Regions from separate parts of the Homo sapiens genome. Here regions 1, 3 and 4 are each linked to region 2. The links are contacts of gene promoters, found by promoter capture Hi-C in blood cells and fetal thymus (Javierre and others, 2016). All regions are on one chromosome and are shown on one strand. Each heading gives the region's core, a stretch centred on a gene start or on the middle of the fragment in contact. The rest is flanking DNA. Distances are from core to core; before and after follow the strand shown. Region 1 overlaps KIRREL3 (kirre like nephrin family adhesion molecule 3). Region 2 holds the start of KIRREL3 (kirre like nephrin family adhesion molecule 3). Region 3 overlaps KIRREL3 (kirre like nephrin family adhesion molecule 3). Region 4 overlaps KIRREL3 (kirre like nephrin family adhesion molecule 3).

The links. Contacts are between HindIII fragments. The CHiCAGO score rates a contact against its expected background, and 5 or more counts as called.
Region 1: a contact is called between a fragment that was not itself captured here and the fragment with the promoter of KIRREL3 in region 2, in 1 of 17 cell types (fetal thymus). The highest score is 5.3, in fetal thymus.
Region 3: a contact is called between a fragment that was not itself captured here and the fragment with the promoter of KIRREL3 in region 2, in 3 of 17 cell types (megakaryocytes, fetal thymus and M1 macrophages). The highest score is 7.5, in megakaryocytes.
Region 4: a fragment that was not itself captured here is called in contact with the fragment with the promoter of KIRREL3 in region 2 in 4 of 17 cell types (fetal thymus, monocytes, endothelial precursors and 1 more); the score reaches 6.3 in fetal thymus.

What each region holds. Positions count from the first base shown.
Region 1 is chr11:126,633,624-126,636,450 of GRCh38, forward strand. The region is part of intron 1 of KIRREL3 (kirre like nephrin family adhesion molecule 3); the gene reads right to left. Among named protein-coding and RNA genes, the nearest start is that of KIRREL3-AS4, 18 kb to the right of the region's middle. The HindIII fragment of the contact is 824 bases long and covers 963-1,786 here.
Region 2 is chr11:126,999,351-127,002,154 of GRCh38, forward strand. KIRREL3 (kirre like nephrin family adhesion molecule 3) reads right to left here and starts at 1,420. Exons shown (of 17, transcript NM_032531.4): 1 at 1,105-1,420. The coding sequence starts at 1,159. The HindIII fragment of the contact is 3,223 bases long and covers 559-2,804 here.
Region 3 is chr11:126,730,075-126,732,851 of GRCh38, forward strand. The region is part of intron 1 of KIRREL3 (kirre like nephrin family adhesion molecule 3); the gene reads right to left. It overlaps LOC105369561 (a long non-coding RNA gene), which reads left to right. Exons shown (of 3, transcript XR_007062941.1): 3 at 470-542. Among named protein-coding and RNA genes, the nearest start is that of KIRREL3-AS4, 79 kb to the left of the region's middle. RefSeq lists an enhancer at 1,501-2,036. The HindIII fragment of the contact is 165 bases long and covers 1,359-1,523 here.
Region 4 is chr11:126,514,011-126,516,710 of GRCh38, forward strand. All of the region lies in intron 4 of KIRREL3 (kirre like nephrin family adhesion molecule 3), which reads right to left. Among named protein-coding and RNA genes, the nearest start is that of KIRREL3-AS1, 28 kb to the right of the region's middle. The HindIII fragment of the contact is 1,786 bases long and covers 441-2,226 here.

The sequences.
Region 1 (2,827 bases), core at 125-2,624, 370 kb before region 2:
CCTCACCAAAAGAAAATGCTGGCACAATGCTTCTTGCACACCCTACATAACCATGAGCCAATTAGATCTCTTTTCTTTACAAATTACCCAGCCTCCAGTATTCCTTTACAGCAATGAAAAGGGTCTAAGAAAAACACTGTCTTGTCTTCCTTTTCCATCATCCATCAGTGTATGTTTTTGTACCAGCAAGTATGTTTATTTAGGCAGAACCACAGGTACTGGCAACGTATCTACAGTGTAGACATGAAAAGAACAGGAAGAGCATAAGTAACAGAGATTTTGTTCACATGGTTTAGTCATGTTCCCACTGCAATGTCCCTCTTCATACAGTATTTCTTACCTCCTTCCACCTCTTCAGAAAGTACAGCGTAGTCCACATGAATGAGACCTGAGTGCACTGGGGCATCCTTCCCTCCTGCTCTGGGGGTCAGGTGTGGTAATCTGGCTTAGCTTCCTCCAAAGCTCCAGTTGGAAGGGAACACGTTCTCTTTTTCTGGGGTGATCCAGTGTCGAAGGCCAATTTACATGCAGACTGGGTGTGTTGTCTGTATTGCTCTGTTCACCGGTACCGAAGGCTCTGAGTAAGGTGGAATCAGACCCTACTCTACTTTCCCTGAACAGTGAGAGCAGCAAGAGCTAACAGCTGAGCATCTACTTTGTGCCGGACCCTATGACATGCACTTTCCATGCATTCATGCAGTCTTCACAATAATTGAATGTGGAAGGTGCCATTGTTCCCTGTATTGTACCGCTGGCCAGTGAGAGCCAGGAGCCTGTGCTCATCACAATACCATAGTTTTCAGCCCCCCAGGCTAACATCTACCCTCTCTCGTGGTGCCTGGGACCCTTCTGGACCTGATCAAGGTGTAGCAGCTAATGGACTCGGAACAAGTCTCTGTAGATTTGAGTGGAGGCGCCACTTGGGCTGGAGAGGCTTGCGGGGAGCTTTGCAGGGGAAATGAAGCTTGACTCTTGGGTCCTCAGGGTTTAAGGTTTGCCTTTTTTCTCAAAAAAGACTTAAAGGGAACCAGGTCCCTTGTACCTGCTGTGTGCACCTGGCAAAGAGTGCATCGGGTGGAATGCAGTCCTCTCTCACCAAGCTCTTGCACTCCATTGCCCCCTAGCCTAGAATACTTGCTCCCTGCTCAGTAAAGAATCAAATTCCTGCAAATATCCATCCTCGGTCCTAGGCTACAGGTCTGCGCCCTCTCGGAGGCCCTTGCTGGTGCTCTTTCCACTAAGCCTCACTGCCTCTCCTGTCTTCAAGGGGACTGATTGCACTAGGGAAGTGTGGAGGGAGGGTATATGCACCCAGGGAAGAAAGCAGCACAGCACTTCTCACAGCTCTGGTCTACAGTTGCTCCACTCAGCAAGTGGGGACAGTTCCAGCTTCTGGGCTCTTCTTGCCCCTAAACTTCTCCTCGATCAGGAGTAATATAGTCTGAGAATGAGCACAAAGAACACTTTTTCTTTTAAGGATTGACCTTTTGCTCAATGAGCAGGATTGAACCTTGAACCCAACAAAAGGGTCTGCAGTGAGGCAGGGCTGGACAGCTCCACCTCTAGGCAGGCACAGCAAGTGTGGGCATTGCTTACTGCAGAGAGGCTTCCCTTCTAAATCCACTCATGGGGGGTGCCAGGTGCTTCCCTCCAAGGCAGAAGGTAACCCCTCCCAGTCCAGAGCAAATCACGGTCTCCATGTTTTTCCTCCCTGGTCCCACATAGGTGAGTGATATATACAGAGGTTAGACCTCAGGGTTATGTTATGGATTGGAGGGAGCAGAGAAGCTTCCTCATTAAAAGGGCTGGGCTGGTTGGCTGGCTCCAAGGCCCTCAGCACCTCTGGGCTTCTGAGCCATGGGAGAGTTGGACAGAAGGCTGAACAGTGGCTGATGGCCTGGAGGAGGAGATAGGGAGGGAGGAGAAGGCTGGATGCTGGGTTCCCATTGTACACCCCCAGCAACGAGCCCCCCTGCCAGCCCAGAGTAACCAGAGATCTTGGGCCACAAGTCAGACACACCTAGACTAAGATGTGGCTTTGACCCCAGCTGGATATCTGCTCACGTCATCAAAGCTCTTGAGGCCTCAGCTTCCTTATCTGTAAAATGTGGCTGGGAATACCTGTTCTACTGATCTGAAGAATTGTTGTGGTAATCTGAAGAGGCGATTGGTATAAAAATACCAGGTAAAAGGCAGAGTGTGTCCCATGAATGAGACACCCTGTCCTTCTCCCTCAAGACATCCTCTTTGTTTCTCATTCCCAATATGAAAATAACAAACCATTCTAGGGAACAACTTGGTTATTTTTGGGTCATGGGCAGGGCCAGCAGGCCTACAGGTAGCGGGAGGGATCAGTGGAGGAAGCGACGTGATTCCTGTAAGACTTGAATGCCCCTGAGTCAAAGTCTGCTCTGAAGACCAGCCCCCTTAGAGTGACAGAGATGGGGCTACCTCACAACTCTGCCACTTACTATTTTTAGGACCTTGGGGAAGTCATATAGAATTTTGAATTTTAGTTCCTTCATTTGTAAAAATGGGAAGGGTAATAGCACTATCCTTAGCATTATAAAATAATGGATACTTATGGCATACCCAGGGCATGGCATGTGCTAAGCATTCAATAAATGTGGACTATTATTGTTATTTCCTTTTTGAGCTAGTTGTGTTTGCTTGCTACGGAGGAAATACCCATTTCAAAGAATTGGGAGGATAAAATTAAGAGACTGGTAACCCAGCATCTGCCGTTTAACAGATGCCCTGTAAGTGAGTGCCTTCCTCTTTCTCCCTTCTGGCACTTGTTCTGTTGAGAGTCTGTGATGCCCAAACC
Region 2 (2,804 bases), core at 170-2,669:
TTTGGCTTCTCCCCGACAGGGGAGAAACAGAAGACATGCTGTTTGCTTGCAAAGCCAGCCACCCATGGCAGTGCTTTGCTTTCTCGAAAACTTTTACCCTTCATTTAATCAACAGATGGACGTGCTCTGTTGTGGATTTTTTCTGAGTCTTGCACCTCTAAGAGCTGTGTTGGCTGGCACAAATGCAGCCTCAGATGGCAGAGGTGCATTGGCATTCCAAAAGAGCGGGAAGGAGCCCATGTACTTGCCCCTCCAAACTCAATTCCACAGGTGACTTTTGATGCCTTTGGCCAACTAGGCACTCACATTCCCTCTCCCGAATTTCCCTCTCCTTTCTGCACCACTACCAGCCCCAGGGCTCCCAGTGGCAAGGAGCCTAGAGGTGGCAAAGTTCTTTCCGGAGAGTCCACCTGCTTCTCTGCCCCTGCTAGGCTGCAGAAAGGAAACCATCAGCACCACGGGCGAAATTTCATTTTATACCCTGAATTCAGTGCTGTGTAGGATTCAGAATTCAACCTAATTTAGGGAACTCGATGACGTTCAATGAAACTCTTTACAAGCTTTTCCCAACCACTGCAAATTACCCCCCACAATACATTCTGTAATTGCAACCCCCTTTTCAACGGTGCAAACCACACACATTCGCTTTTGAATACACTTGTGCAAGTCAAACCCTATTCAAGCTGAAATATCCACCTAAACCAAGCTCTCCCTCCCTGCCGTCTCCTTCCCTGGCCTGGGTCTGAAGGAGAGGAGGTGCCCAGAAGTTCAGAGCGGCATAACCACAGAGATACTACCTAATTAACATACCAGAAGCATAAAGAACTCATTTGCATTGGAGAGTTTGAGCTGGATATTGACAAGTGAGAGGAGAAAGTCATTCCCCTCCCCTCCCATACCCCTTCTTTCCAAAGGAAAATAAACAGTACCATTTTGTTGCATTCGCAAAGGCGAAGAGGCAATGCCAGAGCATCTCAGCCCGGCACCGAGAGACGCATCCATCAGTCCGAGTTCCCGAAGCCTGCCCACGTTCCTGCCCACAGCCTCCCGCGCCCTGACAACCCAGCCGACTTTCTTCCAACTCCAGCAGCGCAGGGGTCCTACCTTGACTGAAGAGGAAGAAGCAGACGAAGAGCAGATCGAGCTGGAAGGGTTTCATTCCTTAGCGCAGCGAAGGAAAGCCGGCGGGGTAACTTGGCTGTGGTTAGTTTCTCTTCCTTGGCGGCTCTCGGTGCTCAGCCTCCGCCGGTCCTCTCGGGTTCGCGCCTACCATCTGTCCGTCCGTGGGTCCCTCCGGGTGGCTTCGGTCTCTTTGTGCCTCTGGGTATCTGCAGCCAGCCGACACAAACTGCCTGTTCTTAGCCGCCTCGGGAAGCCGGGATTGTCAGCAATGTCCCCACTCGGAGAAGATCCATTCTCTGGCTCTTGGCATCCCAGGCACACGGCTTCCTCAGGCGGGCTCCTCCCACAGTGAGCGAGCGAGCTAGTGACGAGTGACAGAAGGACTCCTTTCACTGAAGCTGAGGCGAGGGGAGAGGGAGGGGAGACAGGTCATAATTAAAGAGGAAACACTCGGAAAAAGGAGATCTATGCAAAACGGACAGTGGGGGAAAAGGCTGTGTTCTTTCTTTTCCCTAAATAGGGAAAAATTCAGCTTTTGTCACCATTATTGACCAAAAGGCATCTTGAGCTTGGAGTGGAGCTGTGACTTTTTGTCCACACGATGTCCTGTTTAACAGTGAAGTTAAGGATGACTATCCACATGCATGTGCACAAAAACATGCACGCCCTGCCTTTGCAAAGGAACTGGAAACTGGGCTGAAAGGGAACTAGGAAGGGGGGGTGCGCATCTTTCCCTCGGAAGGACTTGGCCAATGTGTGCAGCGGGAGGCTCGGAGTTGGAGAAGAGATAAGCATGCTTTGCATTTCTGAGAGTTTCCTGTGGGTGGGTGGGTGGTTGTGGTGGGGGGGGGGGGTAGGTAATAAAACCTGAACATTTGGATCTTAGTTTGCTTTGCACTGCTCCTGGAAGACAAAATGCAGGAACTAAAGGGAAGGCAAGTAGGCTTGTGACACACACCCATTTATTATCATTATCCTGGTTTGTGCATTTCCTAACGAGGACAGGGGAGCAGCCTGTCTTTGCATTCAGAGCCTCTCCTCTAATGAGCGCTCCATCACTCTGAGCCTGTCTTTTCTCCAAGAGGTGCTGTGAGTCCAATTGCAAAGGAGAGGCCAAGGTCATAGACAACTGCGTCCTAAGGATCTTCAAGCCTTTTACCTGTCATGAAATTCACACTCCACACTCAAATCAAACTCGGTTTCCTCCAGGATATCAACATGAATTTATCTGGGTCTATTTACTTAATAGACATTTAGGCATGCTTGGTATAAGCAGGCCATGGAGGGAAGCAAAATAATAGGCACAGACCATGCCTTCAGAAGCTCATAATCTAGTGTGCAAGCAGAGTACACACACAAGATGCAAACTCTAAGGACATAACAAAACAACACAGAAAAATATTCAACGTTATGCACTGTGAGAAGGAGAGGTAAAGAGAGAGGAGAGGAAAATGAAAGACGCTCCCCTGACATGTGCCATTTAGCATTCAATTCTAAAATCAGTCATTACTGTCTTCAGTCCCTGGACCTTGGGGAGGTCTTTTGGGAAACTCTTAGCCTTTCCTCTTTCAGTAGTAGCACATCTTTTGAGGACTCTGCTCACTACAAGGCACATTCCAACTCCAAGTTTCCATGCGGATGTTAACTTTAAAAAATTATCCCTTGGTATTTGTGAACAAGAA
Region 3 (2,777 bases), core at 191-2,690, 270 kb before region 2:
AAATGTTGATGTCCCTAGGTTCTATCCCCAGCCGTCTTCTCATTCAGAATTCCCCTCCTCAAAGTAGATTCATCACTCCCAGAGACATTTACATCACGTCTCCACTTAGCCCTTGGCCCTGGCTCTCAGCCCCGCAGAACCCACTGCCGACTAGCCCCATCCACATGGGGGCCCACAGGCCCCTTGAGTGTGACACGTCCAAATGAGTTACTCACCTTCTCCTCCCTCTTCTCATCATCTCTGCACCATCAACATCCCCTAATTGTCCACCAGAAATCAGGGAACAATCCTGGCCTCCACCCTCTCCTCACCCTATACGTCTGGTCAATCATGCCTTCCTCTCAACCTGACTCCTACAGGTATCTTCAACCTGTGCCCATTCTCGCAGCTCTGAGCTTATTCCATACTACATAAGTTTGCTTAGACTGGTGGTTCTCCACCATGGGTGATTTTTGTCTTCCCCACCTAGGGGACATTTGGCAACGTCCAGGGACAATTTCTGATGGTCACAACGAAGTGGTTGCTACTAGCATCAAGTGGGTAGAGGCCAGGGATGGAGCTGAACACGATACAATGCACCAGGCGGCCCCTGCAACCAAGAACCAAAATGGCGGTAGTCCCCAGGTAAAGAAAACCTGGCTTACAACATGCAATACTTTTCTTTTTCTTTTTTTTTGTTTTTGAGATTGAGTCTTGCTCTGTCACCCAGGCTGGAGTGCAGTGGTGCCATCTCGGCTCACTGCAACCTCCGCCTCCCAGGTTCACGCCATTCTCCTGCCTCAGCCTCCCGAGTAGCTGGGACTACAGGCACCTGCCACCACGCCTGGCTAATTTTTTTATATTTTTAGTAGAGATGGGGTTTCACTGTGTTAGGCAGGATGGTCTCCATCTCCTGACCTCGTGATCCACCCGTCTCGGCCTCCCAAAGTGCTGGGATTACAGGCGTGAGCCACCGCGCCCAGCCAACATGCAATACTTTTCTAACTGGTGTCTCTGACAATCAGGTTCCCCTTCAAGCCACTCTCTTTGCTGCCTCCTGCGAGAATGCTTAGCTTACAAATGAATCTGTCTGCATGTCTCCATTTCCTAACTTCTCAGCATAGTTTACAAAGCTCCCTATGATCTGGCCCTGCCCAACTCTCCAGACCCACCTTCCATTTCTCCTGTTAGTCCATGCCCCAGCAGTACTAGATAATCTGCCGTTCTCTGAGTAAATCATGTTCTTCCATACCTCTGGGCCACTGCCTAGGTCTCAAATGACCCTATCCCAGGGTCCATCCCGCTGTGTCCACTGTTTGCATTGGGTCAGAGCTTACTTAGTCCTTCAAGACTCAGCCCGAATACCATTTCCTGGACAAAGCTTTCTCTTGGCTATGCTTCTACCACAGCTTGTACGTATTCTCATGTCTACCTTTCACATTTCTCTTTCTGCAGTCTTCTTGAGGTCACAGATGTGATTTTATTTATCTTTACAGACCCAATGCCTAGCGCCATGTCTGGTGAGTGAATGCACACAGGAAGAAAGCTTTGCCAAAATTTGCACACCTCGTTGCTGGAAGGACTAGGACTGGCATTCAGGTCTTTGGACTCCCAAGCTATGCTCACCTCATCAGACCTGATGGCTCTAAGTAGGTCAGTTTTAGGTCCTGAGCTACTTGATCCATCTGGCTCCCAGTTAGAGAACAACAAGAAACTAATCACATGTGGTGGCTGCTGCCTCCGTAAGTGCTTCCATTTATTCACAAGCTGAAAGACAAAAGCTTGGCCCCCCAGCATATGCTGGATCAAAAGCAAGGAACAAAAAGGATTGTAAAAGAAAGACGCTGGAAATAGTAGCTACTTTGATGCAGGCAGCTCTTTGAGGAAGCAGCTGAGGACTGTGCCCCCAGCAGCAAAGAGAGAGAGAAGTCACTGCCAGAGGGTGAAGGAAATCACTGCAGGAAGGGTGGGACCTCACTGGCTTCTCTGCTGGTTTCCAGCGAGTGCCAGGAATGGGGGAGGGGTGTCTCATTAATCTCACCTCCTTGCTGCCCTGCCTGGGGTCTTTACAATCTGCTCCATTTGGAGACTAAGGATTCCTACAGGAATGGCAATCTGAGCCAGAGATTTAGGAAGGAGGTTTATAAGTAATGGCTAGAGCGATAGAGTAATTAATAGGAAACTATTATTAACAATACAGTGATTTCATAATGATTCCGCAGTTTATAATACAAATGTATACATCATTTGATGAATTATTGTATTGAGCCCGAGGATGCAGGAATGGCCAGATTCTGTCCTTGAAATAGCCACCCCTTCTCATGAGGACCCCTGAGAAAATATAGTAAGCACACAAAGAAAGGAAAGCAAAGCAATGCTTCATTGTTAGCTGGACTTGTGATCAAAACCCTAGCGCTCTCTGGTCAACTGGACTAGATGACGTTTTCTACTAAGCAAGTTAGGACTAAACAGCTCATAACAACAGCCAATCCAATATACCTGCTTGTCTCGGGAAAGTGTAGTCAGCTGCAGAGAGACAGTGAGAGAGTGACTGTTTCCTTTGAATTCCTGCTCTCTGGAGTTGACTTGGGCAGCCTGGCTCTGAACCAGGACACCATCTCTGGGTTGGTGGCCATCTGAGAAAACATGGAGAAAAGACACTTTGAGGAAGGTAACCTCGTAATGCTGAGAGGAAGCTTATGCCCAAGGAGACTCCAAGGAGAATTTGGGATCTAACCCCAGAGCACTGCAGAGTGGAAAAGGCCAGGGGGAACCCCTTATCTTACCAGAAAACCAAG
Region 4 (2,700 bases), core at 84-2,583, 490 kb before region 2:
TGGTGTCAGTGGCCAAAGGGAGAAAGAGGAGGGGAATCTGCTTCTGGCCCAGGGGACATGGGGGTAGTCTGGGCTACCAGGAAGGGAGCTGGGAGCGAGCTGGTGGCAGGGGTGGGGTGTGTGTAGGGGGAGCGAGATGTACAATAGCTCCGACACAGCTCCCATGTGGAACCTCAGGAGATAAGGATGTTTTCTGCTCCTGTCTTCCGTCTCTGGCTCGTTTGCTACCGCTATTTGGGGGTGATTGCAGGGTAATGAATGTTGCAGGAAACAGCCACATAGCACAAATGAGATACGGCACTAAGACCAGGCCAGGGCCCAGGCAAAACACGCTTAATAAGCAGATAAGGAAATCAATTCTGCCTTTCTTCCCAGGTGTGCAGCCTGCTGGGAGGGGCCTGCAGGAATCATATCTTCCTGCCTTGCTTGATACATGGGAAAGCTTCTCTAGGAAGCAAAGTCTGATCCCCCGGGATGCAGGGGTTGCTTGTTGGTGTCTCATAACATTGTGCAATAATAGCAATGATGAAAACAGTTATAATACTAGCAGCCAATGCTGCTATGCCTTGCTGCATAACAGGCGCTATTCTGAGACATGTTTTACATATATTATTTCATTAAATCCTCTCTTCAACCCCATGAAAGCAGTTATGATTATTTCCCTCATTTTACACAGAAAGAAACAGGCACAGAGTGGTTAAATAACTTGCTCACGGTCACACCAGTGGCAAAATGATACAGCTAGGTTTCAAGTGCGGGCAATCTGGCTTCCAGAGGCCAGGCGCTTAGCCACATTGCCTCTCCAACACAACACAACACAACACAACACAACACAACACAACACAACACAACACAACAAAACACAATTGTCATCCGTGTTTGGGGCTTACTATCTGCCAGACTCTGTTCTCTGTCGTCAGATTCAGTGTAAACTCCCCCTAAATTTTCCCTAAGCCTTGTTATTTCAATTGCCATGAGGAACATTTACTGAACACCCAGTATGTGATTCTAGGCTGTGCTAGGCATGAAGGATGAAAGATGCTCCCAGGAGACCCGGTGGGGGAAACAGACATGAAAACAGTTACTCTCAACATAGCGTGTCGAGACCTGTAATCAAGGTGCATAAGGAGGCTGGGCGCGATGGCTCACGCCTGTAATCTCAGCATTTTAGGAGGCTGAGTTGGGTGGATCCCTTGAGCCCAGAAGTTCAAGACAAGCATTAGCAACATGGCAAAACCCGGTCTCTACAAAAACAAAACAGAACAAAACAAAAAAACAAACAAACAAAAATTAGCTGGGTGAGGTGGTGCATGCCTGTGGTCTCAGCTACTCGGGAGGCTGAGGTGGGAGGATCGCTTGAGCCAGGGAGGTCGAGGCTGCAGTGAGCCATAATAGTGCCACTGCACTTCAGTCTGGATGACAGAGCAAGACCCTGACTCAAAAAAAAGATGCCTAAGGAAGTGAAAAGGACCACAGGGGGACAGTCAGGCCATGTGGGCTCCAGAGAAGGCTTCCTGGAGGAGGAGTTGTCTGAGGTGAATCTTGACAGCTGAACACAAGTTAGCCAAGGGAAGAAAGGTAGGAAGGGCACTCCAGGAAGAAACACAGTGTGAATGAGGGCCCAGAGGCTTGGTGAGCGGAAGGAGATGCCAGCTGCTTGTTAGTGCGGGAGCAGGTTGGCGGTGGGTCTGAGGCTGGGGACACAGCTGGGGGCTGGCCTCGGGGGGCCTTGTGTGGCCTGGCAGGGAGCTTGGGTTTTGTTCTGTGGGGACACTTTCTCGCCCCTGAAGAACCCCTCAGACTGTCACCTACTGATTTGCCTTTTTATGTCAGGGTGACTATGGATGGGTTTCTTGCAACCAGTTTCTGGAAGAATGGTTTAGAAGCCAGCACCCTCGAGGTCTGTTCCAGCTCTGCCTTCCTTTGCTGGCAGACTCTGAGTTATTCACCACTGTTCTCTGGACCCATCTCCCCAGAAGATTCATGGATGGGAGATTGGGGGAGGCTGCCAACGCGGTGGGCTGAGGAGGCCCTGCAGCTCTGCTGGTAGAGCTGTGGCAAAGGGAGCTTGTGGTTTTGAAAAACAAACTAGTTAAGGACACGTCACAGATTGGACCTTATCTGTTTTCCTCTCTCAGTATTTGGGGCTTGACATCATTTAAAAAGATGCCCTCTTTATTTGAATTGACTTAGTCTCCCTCTTAAATAATTCATGTTGATTTAGGAAGCTTTATTTCTAACGGGAGCCACAAGACAGCAGAGTTAATATTAGAACGGGCCAGGAAGAAGAGGGAAATGAGGAGGGAGACTGGGAAAAATGCCCCTCTTAATAATTAATCTGATGCCAACATCCCCTCCTCCCACTTCTGATCCCCCCATCCTGCTCTACTTTTTCCTTTCCGTAGCATTTATTACCACCTCACATCCTGTACAGCAATGCAATTTATGGTTTAATCCGTGCATCACTTATCGACCGCCTTCTCTCTGCCAGAATGCAAGCTCCACCAGGGCAAGGATGGTTTTCTCTTTCGTTTCCTGATGAATCCCACGTGTCTAGACTAGTGCTTGGCATATAACAGGTGCTCAGTAAACATTTGTTGATCAAATCCTTGGTACCATTTCCTCCCTGCCCTGGATGTCCCAACACCTTGCTTCCCAAGTTTCCAGGAAGTTGAAGAGATCAAGTGTAATGCCACCCTT